Regions from separate parts of the Homo sapiens genome. Here region 2 is linked to region 1. The links are contacts of gene promoters, found by promoter capture Hi-C in blood cells and fetal thymus (Javierre and others, 2016). All regions are on one chromosome and are shown on one strand. The core of a region is centred on a gene start or on the middle of the fragment in contact, and the rest is flanking DNA. Distances in the headings are between cores, read along the strand shown.

What was found. Contacts are between HindIII fragments. The CHiCAGO score rates a contact against its expected background, and 5 or more counts as called.
Region 2: a fragment that was not itself captured here is called in contact with the fragment with the promoter of AATBC in region 1 in 1 of 17 cell types (endothelial precursors); the score reaches 7.1 in endothelial precursors.

The regions. Positions count from the first base shown.
Region 1 is chr21:43,811,317-43,817,095 of GRCh38, reverse strand. It overlaps AATBC (apoptosis associated transcript in bladder cancer), which reads left to right and starts at 4,529. Exons shown (of 2, transcript NR_026961.1): 1 at 4,529-5,779. LOC124905033 (a long non-coding RNA gene) reads right to left here and starts at 4,424. Exons shown (of 2, transcript XR_007067897.1): 1 at 2,101-4,424. The HindIII fragment of the contact is 6,406 bases long and covers 1-5,331 here.
Region 2 is chr21:44,093,995-44,099,681 of GRCh38, reverse strand. It overlaps TRAPPC10 (trafficking protein particle complex subunit 10), which reads right to left. Exons shown (of 23, transcript NM_003274.5): 20 at 5,449-5,619; 21 at 1,148-1,325. Among named protein-coding and RNA genes, the nearest start is that of PWP2, 11 kb to the left of the region's middle. The HindIII fragment of the contact is 1,603 bases long and covers 1,163-2,765 here.

The DNA.
Region 1 (5,779 bases), core at 3,280-5,779:
TGCCTGCTGGTTCCGGCCGGGTGACAGTGGGCACCTGCTGAGCGGGTCTCTGCAGCCACCCTGCACGGCGAACGGCCCGGCCAGTTGAGGTCTCCAGTGGCCTCGCTGTGACCTCAGAACCAGGGACTGGGTCACAGGTCAGGTTGCACCTCCTCGACCCACACAAGGCGGCCACCTGCCCCAAGCCAAGTGTGCCCAGACCTCCGTCCTGAGCTCAGCCTGCAGCAGATGGCGCTCTCTGCTGCCCCCCTTCTTTCCTTGGCCACCCCAACCATGGTCCCCCAGGCTTTGCCTCGTTTGGTGCCCTCAGCCCTCCTCCTAGGCTGGGCCTCCTGCAGGCCATGCAGGAGAGGCCTCTTGTCCACCTGTGCCCTGCAGAGGCACCCCCCACCAGCCCCACAGAGCTGCCGTCCCTGCTGGGGCTGTGGCCAGCTCCGGGGGCACACCCCTCGTGGACAGAGGCTGTCTGGGGCCAGGGGGGTTGGGGAGGGGTGGAGGGGAGGTGGCTGATGGGTCAGTCCCTCCAGCCTGGGTCTGGGAGAACCCACAGCAGGCTTTGTGGGGTGCCTGGTTGCCTCTCACAGGGAAAGTGTCAGAGGGGCAGTTGGGGGTGACTTCCTGGTCAGGGGGAGAGTGGCAGGAGGGCCTATGTCCAGGAGGGGCTATGTCATCCCCTAGCACCTGCTGGGCGGTAGGGACAGGTTTTCTGGCCCCACAAGGGCCACACGCCCAAGGCCAGGACCTGACCTGGGGCCAAATCTCCCCAGTAGCTCCTGTGTCCGTTCACCACCTGGCTGAGCTGGGCTGTGCCCTGGTGGTGGCTGAGGGTCCTGGAGGCGGAAGTGCACAGGGCACAGCAGCTCACCCAGAGATCAGGCCCCGTTAACCCTCAGCAGGAGAGGGAGGCAGGGGCCGGGGCTGCTCCACCCAAAATGCCACCCAAGTGCGGCACGGCCCAGGGTGCGGAAGGGACCTGGTGACCAAGGCCGGCATGTGCCCAGGGTGCGGAGGGGACCAGGTGACCAGGGCCAGCGCGTGAGAATAACATGTGTGACCGACACAGGCAGCTGGAGACAGGAAACGCACAGGGGGTCGGTGTCCCTCAGACAGCAGAGACTGTCACGGGCCGAACTGTGTCCCTCAGACAGCAAGGGACTGTCACGGGCCAAACTGTGTCCCTCAAAAATCCGAACGTGGGAGTCTTAACTCCCCCAGGATCCCAGCTGTGACTGTATTTGGAGGTAGGGTCTTAAGAGAGGAGATTAGATTAAAATTAGATTGTAAATCAGCAAATTGTATCTTAAATATATGATCTTTAAGTGTCACAAATACCTTAATTAAAAAAAAATAATTGAGAAGCCAGAACATGAAAAGTTTTTTAAGTTAAAATAAGGCTATTTGGGTGGACCCCACCCAACCTACCTGTGTTTTTATAAGAGGCAATGAGGACACAGACACACAGGAAAACGGCCCTGTGAGGACACGGGGAGGAGGCGCCAGGTGCCAGCCCAGGAGAGAGGCCTCAGGAGCCAGCCCCACTGCACCCTGGCCTCGGGCCCCAGCCTCCGGGACTGTGGGAGAATCTATGTGGGTTGCTGAAGCCCCAGCCTGTGGTCCTTTGTCACGGCCACCAGAGCAGACTCACACAGCGGCCTCAAAGGATGGGGCCACTTGTTCTCCCCGCCGCCCCCCTGCCCCGCCCACCCCCCTTTCCCCTGCAGCCACGCCCCCTCACCGGCCGCCTCCCGCCCCGCCCACCCACCTTTCCCCTGCAGCCACGCCCTCTCACCGGTCGCCTCCCGCCCCGCCCACCCACCTTTCCCCTGCAGCCACGCCCTCTCACCGGTCGCCCCCCCTCCCCCCCGCCCACCCCCCTTTCCCCTGCTGCCACGCCCTCTCACCGGTCTACACACCCGTGCACCCCTGCAGGGCCTTGGCACTGGCTACTCCTGCCGCCAACCCCACTCTGCCCCAAATATCCACTTGGCTCCCGGCTTTGCCTCTGTCAAATATTTGCCCAAAGAAGCCCTCCCCTGACCGCACACTCGCCCTCCACACGGCCAACCCTTCACCTTGCTCTATCTTCTCCACTGCACTTACTGGGGGCTTCAGGTAGTCTTCCTGCTTCCTTCCTTCCTCCCTCCAAAACAGAGGCTGAGCCCGGCTGTTGCGGACCCTTGCCTGAGGCGAGAGGCAGGAGTAGGACATCATGTGCCAGGCGCAGTGGCTCACACCTCACGAACATTCACCTTGAACAAACCTCATCAAGGTTTTCCCCACATCTCAATGGAAGGGCAGCCCACGGCTGATTGACGGGTTGGAGGGGTGCCCAAAAGACAACCTTCCTGCCCCAGCCAGCCCAACTCCAGGTGCTCCAGGGCTCCCAGTGGGACCAGGCTGTCTCCAGCCAAGCCGACCTCCTGGCCTGGCTCCCTCCCTCTCCGCAGAGTGCCATGATCACCCCACACAGGCCCCAGCACCTCTGACCTAAACCCCAAGGGCCAGAATACGGTGTCACCACCCACCCAACCTGACCCAGGCCGAGGGAGCTGGGAGCAGAAATTCAGGATGCGGAGGTGAGGGGAGCAGAGGCTGGATTCAATTCAGCCGAATTCCAATTGGGAGAAAAGTGAACTCCACCCGGGCTTGCCTGGAAGCCCGTTTCCTTGGGAACCGCAGGGCTGAGAAACAGCCTGGCCAGGGAAAAGGCAGCTCCTGGCGGGCAGCCTGGGGCAGCCATGGGTGTGCAGACCTCGGCCCCTGTGAGCAGCGGAGAGAAAAGGACAGGTGGCACTGGGCTGTGGCTTCTCCGTGTCCAGGAGACCCGAACGGCTCAGAGCCTTCAGGCAAGAGTAGGACATTATGGGTCGGGCGCAGTGGCTCACGCCTGTAGTCCCAGCACTTTGGGAGGCCAAGGCGGGCAGATCATGAGGTCAGGAGTTGGAGACCAGCCTGGCCAACGTGGTGAAACCGTCTCTACTAAAAATATAAAAATTAGCTGGGCATGGTGGCGTGTGCCTGTAATCCCAGCTACTCAGGAGGCTGAGGCAGGAGAATCGCTTGAACCCAGGAGGTGGAGGTTGCAGTGAGCCGAGATCATGCCATTGCACTCCAGCCTGGGCGACAGAGCGAGACTCTCTCTCTCAAAAAAAAAAAAAAAAAGTAGGACACTGTTGTCTGTCCAAGGGAGGGACAGACCCCAGGGCAAGTGGCACAAAGCAGACAGGGTGCCAGGAGGTGCCCAAGGGGTGCCAGGGGCAGGGTGAGGACCTGGTGCTCAGACTCAAAACCTACACTCAGGCTAGCTCCCAGTCGGCCAGCCCAGGAGTCACCCAGGCACACCCTAGGGGAGGGGACGGGGCTGCCTGCTGCCTGAGCCCTTCACTCCCCCGGGGAATGGGACCTGTGCCCCACAGCCTAGGGACAGGGCCACTGGCCTTAGGACAGACCAGGCAGCAGACAGGCCACGGCACCATAAGCCCTATACTCATTCCCCGGCACCACCTGCTCCTGGCCAGGCCCCACACTTGGTCTGGCCTGACCCTGCCCTCAAGTGCCCTGAGGGTGACATGGGGGGCCCAGGGGCTGCTGGGGATGAGGATGAAGCCTGACTGTGAGGCGGGGCAGACTGGGCGGGGGCCTGGGCCTCGCTGGGTCACCTGGGATGTAGGTCAAGGCAAGGAGGGAGGACCTGGAACGCCCCTCCCCTGCCCCTGCCTGGCTCCCCAATGCCCTGGCCATGGGAATCAGGTACTGTGGCACCAGGTGGATGGTCTGGGTGTCCAGGGAGTCTGGGGCCACTTTTGGAATCTGCCAGCCCCTGCCACGTACCAGCGTTTTCGAATCCTCTCACTCTCCGCCAAATCACCCAGAGCAGTTTTCCAGGGACAGGAGAGGGAAGGAGCTGCCCATTGCGCTGCCCCTGGCTCAAGCTCTGAGAGGGGCGTAGGGCTGGGGACAGCGGCCAGGACTCCGGGGCTGTGGGGGCGGGTTCTGGGTGCGTCATGGGGTGCGCCCTGCTGTGCCTGCCCGAGTGCGGGGCCTGACCTGACCAGGTGAGCCCTTCTCTGAGGAAGCTGATGAGGGAGAATTTCTCCTGCTGGCACTGAAGAAGCAAAGTGTGTGGGGGGGGGAGCCTCGGGGAAGGGGGCTGTGGGCACCTCCAGGATCTGAGGGAACCCCAGGAATAGCCCGTGAGAGAAACGGGAGGCCTACAGCCAAGAGTGCATCCTCTAGAAGACAAGGAAGAAAGAAGAATGCACCCTCCCAACAGCCAGGGAGTGTGCGAGAGGCCCAGCCTCCAGTGCCTGGCAGCTTCAGCACCCACTTCAGCCAGGGAGCCCTGGGCAGGCCCAGCCATGCCTCCCAAACCCTCGTCTACGGCTGGGCGCTGACATGCAGTGGTGGTGAAGTCACCAAGTTCAAGGTAATTTGTTGCACAGCACGGGTACTTAATGCAGGAGGGACTCGATAAACATTTAGGCAGGAAAAGAAAGAAGAACAAAGGAGGGAGGGAGGAGCCACCAGGAAGGAAGGAGGGTGACTGCAGAGACCGGCCCTGGGCAGCGGTACCAGGGGCACAGGGAGCCTGGCCCGGCCCATTGTCACTGGAATTCATGCCATGCAGACTTCTACATCAAAGGGAAACAAGGTCAGGAGGGCCGAGGGGTCCACGGCACTCCGCACCCACGGGGCCAGGCTGGCACAACGCCCCAACGCTGCAATCCTGGGAAGAGTCACACGCGCCCTCCCGGGACCCACGTGACCATCAAGGGAGTGTGGAGGACACATCCCTCGGGGGTGACGCCCCTGCAGATGGAGTTTCCCCATCTGTGCCACCCTTGCAAGGCCTGGGAAAGGCTGCGGGGCCAGGCGGCACCGGGCAAGCTGAGTGCCAGGTGGTGGTTGCAACACACCGGGCAAATCTGAAACCATGGGACGGACGAGCTGCACCCCTGGGAAAGAGAACAGAGGAAGGCCGGTTATCAACGTCCTCCTGTGCCTCAGTTTCCAGAAACAAGCCAGACTCAGTGCCTCAGGGAGACCCCGTGTGGCCTCCGGAGAGCACGGGACCCGCCCTTTGTGCAGGTGAGGAAACTGAACCCCAGAGCAGTGAGGGACTGGCCTGGGGACCCTGGGCTCAGCCCTGGGCGCCTTCCCTCTGCCCATCTCAGACGGGCACAGCCAGCACCGCCTCACCCCAACGCGCCTCCAGACTGGCCCTCCAGGGGCCCCCAGGCACAATCCTCTCACTTTCTTCCTCAAGCCCCTGCCTTCCCCCTTCGCACTGTGACCCAGGGGCTGCTAGCAGCTGGGCTGGGCTCCAAAGCTTGAAGCTGCTTCTCCAGGTCTCTTTCCAGGGGGCGGCGGATGGCTGCTCACTCAGGGACGCCAACACCAACAGGAAGGGACCCATGCACGGATCTGACTTCCCTCCCAGGCTCTGCCTTCACTCAATGTCCCTGTGGGGCAGCTGGGGCTCCCGGCCGCCCTCCCCTGCCCACAGCCGTGAGGTTGCTTCCTAGGGTTCTGTTTTCCCCACAGTCGGAACTGAGGTGCTGGGAGGCTCCAGAAGAGGGATGGGGTGGAGCAAGTGGCCTGGAGCCCCCCAGGGCAGACCCCAAAGAGAAGGGTCAGAAGTGCCCTCTGGGGCCTGGGCAGCTGGGGGGAGCCCACAAGCCTGAGACCCTGTGGGAGGGAAGCGCCCCCACCCCGTGGTAAGAAAGGGGCTGGTAGAGGCTCCTATGTGGCTCCCTCTGTCCCCTCCCGACCTCTGGCC
Region 2 (5,687 bases), core at 715-3,214, 290 kb before region 1:
AGACCCCACTGGATTTCAATACAGATAGAACCAGGCTGCAGACCACACTGGATTTCACTACAGAGTGGACCAGGCTGCAGACCCCACTGGATTTCAATACAGATAGAACCAGGCTGCAGACCCCACTGGATTTCACTACAGAGTGAACCAGGCTGCAGACCCCACTGGATTTCAGCAGCTTTCGCAGGCATTCTTTGGGTCTAATTCTATGGCATTTGTCACATGTGTAGATTCGTGTAACAACCACAGCGGCCCTGGCCCAGAACTCTCCATTACCACAGAGGACGGCCTCCTGCTGCCTCCCACTGCTCCGTGGAACACTGACCCGCTCTCCTTCTGAGGCTGGCATTTTGAGGATGTCATTTAGAAATGGAATCACACAGTACACCTCCTTATAGGACTGGCGTTTTTCTCTTAGTATAATGCCCTTGAGATCCAACCACAGCACTGCGTGTGTCAACAGTCCCTTCTGTTTCACTGCTGAGGAGGAATCAGATGTGCCAGTTTAACCGCTCTCGAGCTGAAGGACGTTTGAGTTATTTCCATTCTTGAGTGCTTGTGTTCTTGACATTCTCTGGGTCTCTGCTGCAGAATGACAGCTGGCTCAGGGAAAGCACACGGGGAGCGCTCGGTGCTGCGAGCTGAAATAGCCGCTGTTTTCACAGAACGCCCTTTTCACTTGCAAGAGCGCTGGGGAAGCTAGTTATTCAGTGTTGGGTATTTGGTAGACGTCTGATTAAAAATGAATGATGTAAGCCTGTCACTTCAAAGAAAACAACACGACTATTTGCTGCCAATGATGCCATCTGAGACTTTAAGCAAAAATCAGAATTTTGGAAAACTTACACTTGCCACTGTGAGCTTGAAAGAGTTCTGATGCTCCAAGCCCTCCCTGAGAGATCACAAATGCAGATTTTAAAAAAATATTGTCAAACGAAAGGTGCCCACATTTGGAAGATCTGCACAACTCAGGAAACCATGTTTCCCACATGACTAATGGCACAGGGTGTAACGCTATGATGCCTGGGTAAAAGAGCCATTCAAAATGCAAGATAGGCTGAGTGCAGTGCCTCACACCTGTAATCCCAACACTCTGGGAGGCCAAGGCGGGAGGACTGCTTGAGCCCATGGGTTCGAGACCACCTACCTTCATACATAAGCTTTGTCGAAAAATGCTCATCAGATTCAGTCAGTGCTTCATCTTTATCCACCTCCAAGAGGTCTGAGAGCCTCGTGATCAAAACCTCCAGGGAGCAGAGGGAGCCTGTTCTGCAATACTCCATTCCCGAAGGGGGAAAGATCTCAGCCTTCACGTTGTATAATGTCTGGGCAGGAAAGGGAGAGAATAGAAAGGAAATGTACCTAAGTGGCCTCAAGAAATGCAACTAGAGGAAAAAGCAGAGCTGCCCACAGACCCTGGAGAGCTGAGGATAGACACCTATCTGCTCGGCTGGCCTTAGAGCAACTGTCGCCACTCACTCTCAATAATTCCCACTGGAGATGCAATGTTTTCGGAAGTCCTACACTCCGAACCTTAACATCCTTCTTTAAATTATGAACATTTTCAACCACAGGAAGAAAGGATAGCACAGAGCCCTTCCAGCCGCCTATCACCCAGATCCTGAGATCTCAGCATCTTGCTGCCTCAGCATCCTCTTATCAAGCCATGGACATTTCTGTATTTGCCTGAGGTAATTTAAAGCGAATTTCAGGCCAGGCATGGTGGCTCACGCCTGTAATCCCAGCACTTTGGGAGGCCGAGGTGGGCAGATCACTTGAGGTCAGGAGTTCGAGACCAGCCTGGGCAACATGGTGAAACCCCGTCTCTACTAAAAATACAAAAATTAGCCGGGTACAGTGGCAGGTGCCTGTAATCCCAGCTACTTGGATTACTTAGCAGGAGATTCCCTTGAACCCAAGAGGCAAAGGTTGCAGTGAGCTGAGATCGCACCACTGCACTGTAGCCTGGGTGACAGAGCAAGACTCTTGTCTAAAAAAATAAAATAAAATAAAAAAATAAAGCAAATTTCAGACAACCTGTTATTTTGCCCCATCTGCTTCAGTATGCATTACTAAACACTAAGGCCTTTTTCTTACCAAAACACAATGCTATTATTACAACTAGCAAAAGCAACAGGAATTCCTTGGTATAACCCAATTCAGTCCATAATCTACTTTGTCCGTGTTTTCTTTCCATAATCAACCTATTCTCGGTGGCTATTCAAACATGCTTAACATTCTACCACCACCCATGACAAACGATCAAAACACATCTGCCACTGCCAAGATGAAAAAGGGCTCATGCACTACAACCTGGCAGTTCCACTTCTGAGGGGAAGCGTTGTGTGTGCGCGCGAGCGTGTGTAATACAGTATAGCTTGACTTAAAAAGTGTTCTATTGGCATTGTAAAATGTTCAAAGAAGAGATTTCAGTATATTAAGAAGCATTTGTCTGGAGTCTGAGGCCAAGATGAAGCCGTTTTATGGGAGTTCACAGCCTAAACAGCAGTCCCAAGAGCGGCCTTTCTAGGTGATCTCCTACCAAATGCCCAATTACCTCTGTTCGGACATGGGACAAACTCCCACCAGTCTCAAGAGGGGCCATGCTGGGACTTCCTGGGGCTCTCAAGCCACAGGGCAGAAAAGATCCCAAATACACAGATGCAAAAGTGCCAGCCGTGGGCCCGGGTGCCCGTAGGTCCTGGGAACTGAAGCAGTAGAACACTGTGCTAGAGGCCCACTGAAATACCTCCTCCTCAGAAGCTTCTGGCTGGGGCACAGTCTGAATGTTTCTGAATCCAGCAAAGAATGCAGATTTGCCTCAGGGCTTGAAGGACACCCAGAGTTGCAGTAGGACACAGTGGGGTGTGATGAGACCTGCGTGTGCCTGAACGCTGCTCTGGGCTGCATCTGGGAAGGAGAGTGGCTGGGGGAAAGCACAGCCCAAGGCGAGCAGCAGGGGCCTCACCTGGCGGCACCTGGAGCTCAGGCACAGGGACCAGAACCGCAGAGCCTCTTCAGAGAGACACGCGAGCACTGACGGCCAGCTGGAATCTGGCAAGGGGGCCAGGGCCACCCTGCAGGGAGGAAAGCATCGTCATGACAGATGGGATAGGGACACCTGCTGGGTCATTTGAAAAGAACAAATTTGGACCCTACCTCTCACCATACACAGAAATTAAGTCAAAGTAGATCACAGACCTAAATGCAAGTGCTCAAATTACGAACATCTTGGAAGGAAATGCAAGAGAAAATCTTTTTGACCAAAGGCAATGATTTTCTAGGTCCAAAGCAAAAAATTTAAGCAATAAAAGAGAGAGTTGAATTGGATTTCATCAAAATTTAACTTTGGTGCTTCAAAAGACAACAAATGGAAGAAAATACTTGCAAATCATATATAAGGACCTGGTACCTAGGATATATAAAGAACTTACAATTCAATAATAAAAAACAAATAACCCTATTTAAACATGGGGAAAGGATCTGAACAGACATCCTTCCAAAGAAGGCAGAAAAATGGGCCACACGCCCACGAGCCGCAGCACATCACCAGCCACTGGGGAAACGCCTGCCAATTGGGACAGCCACAACCAAAAACACAGTGAGACAAGTGCTGGCAGGACACACAGAAGCTGGGACTCTCTGGGTCCCAGCTGGAATCCACTATGTTGCTGGTGGGAATGTAGAGCCCTCTGGAAAAAGTTGGCAGTTGCTCAAAAAGCTAACCACAGAGTTACCCTATGACCCAGAAATTCCACTCAGGTCTTTACCAGGAGAATTGAATAGATACAGCAACATACAAACCCGTACTTTGGGCCAGGCACGGCGGCTCATGCTTGTTATCCCAGCACTCTGGGAGGCCAAGCGGGGTGGATCATGAGGTCAGGAGTTCAAGACCAGCCTGGCCAAGATGGTGAAACCCCATCTCTACTAAAAATACAAAAAATTAGCCAGGCGTGGTGGCACAGCACATGCCTGTTATCCCAGCTACTCCGGAGACTGAGGCAGATAATTGCTTAAACCTAGAGGGGCGGAGGTTGCAGTGAGCCGAGATCGCGCCACTGCACTCCAGCCTGGGCGACACAGCGAGTCTCTGTCTCAAAAAAACAAAACAAAACAAAAAACAAAAAAAAACCCATACTTTAGCCGGGCACAGTGGCTCACACCTGTAATCCCAGCACTTTGGGAGGCCAAGGTAGGTGGATCACCTGAGGTAGAGAGTTTGAGACCAGCCTGATCAACATGGAGAAACACCGCCTCTACAAAAAATTAGCCAGGCGTGGTGGTGCATGCCTGTAATCCCAGCTACGCAGGAGGCTGAGGCAGGAGAATCGCTTGAACCTGGGAGGCAGAGGTTGTGGTGAGCCGAGATCGTGCCATTGCACTCCAGCCTGGGCAACAAGTGTGAAACTCCGTCTCGAAAATAAATAAATAAATAAATAAATAAATAAAATAAAATAAAAATAATTAGCCAGGTGTGGTGACACGTGCCTGTGGTCCCAGCTACTTGGCAGGCTGAGGTGGGAAGATAATGAGCCCAGAAGGTCCAGGCTGCAGTGAGCTATGATTGTGCCACTGCACTCCAGCCTGGGCAACAGAGTGAGACCTTGTCTCATAAATAAATAATTTGTTTATATATAAATTATTATTATAATATATACTATTATTTGATTTAATTAAATTATTTAATAATTTGTGGTTTTATTTATTCATTTAAATTTATTTAAGGAGAGTTATATAAAACATGAAGGTCAAAACAATTTGTCTTGGATGGAAGAAGATAGAAAAAAACTGCTAATATCAAAACTATAAAGACAAACACTTCAAATAAACATTGTTTGATAATTTCAAATAGTAAAGAGAAGAAAAGAAAGTATCACAAAATTGCAAAACATTAAGTCAAATCATCTCCCTAAAGGAACACAGCACACACCTGTATCTACTCACCTAGCTCAAGGCTACTCTTCATTCCACACTCAAATTGGCTTCTACCAAATGATGCACAAGTTCTAAGAAAATCTTCACAATACTCAGCTAGCAGGTTTTCATATGTTTTCAGCTTTTCTTTGAAAAACTAGAGATATGCCTTAGAAAGCAATGCCCCTGAAGATGAAATGACTCCAAGAAATATTTCCAGGGAGTTACTAAGTCAACATGAGAAAGGGAAAAAGATAGAAGAAAAAAGGAATCTTTGGGCTTTCCAAATGACAAACACTCCTCTTAGAGATGCCCCCAGGAGTGTGGGCATCTCAGATGTGTCACTTGAGAAGGACCTGGGGTTCTAAAATAAAGACAGTCAATGATTCAACTACCCCAACAACTGTTTTTCTCCAGCTGCTCCTTCATTATGTTGACAGAAGCTGTCTATTCAGTTCTTCAGATTATAAAGAACATAATGCCATCTTTCATTTTTTCACCCCCACCCTCCCAAAATAATACATCACTTACAAAAAAATTTTCCACTTTAAATTCATAAGTATACGGCTTTAAGGAGATAGACAGCTGTTCCTCAGAAGCTGGGGAAAATCCAACAGAGAACCGGCAATGCAGAGAAGGGGGAGGCTCTTCTGTCCACTTGAGTTCCCAGACGAAGAACACCGACTGCTTGCTGTAGATGGGCTGGAAAGAGAGTTGGGGGTCACTGCTCACACAGCACCATAACCGCAAAGAGGACACAGACACTGCAG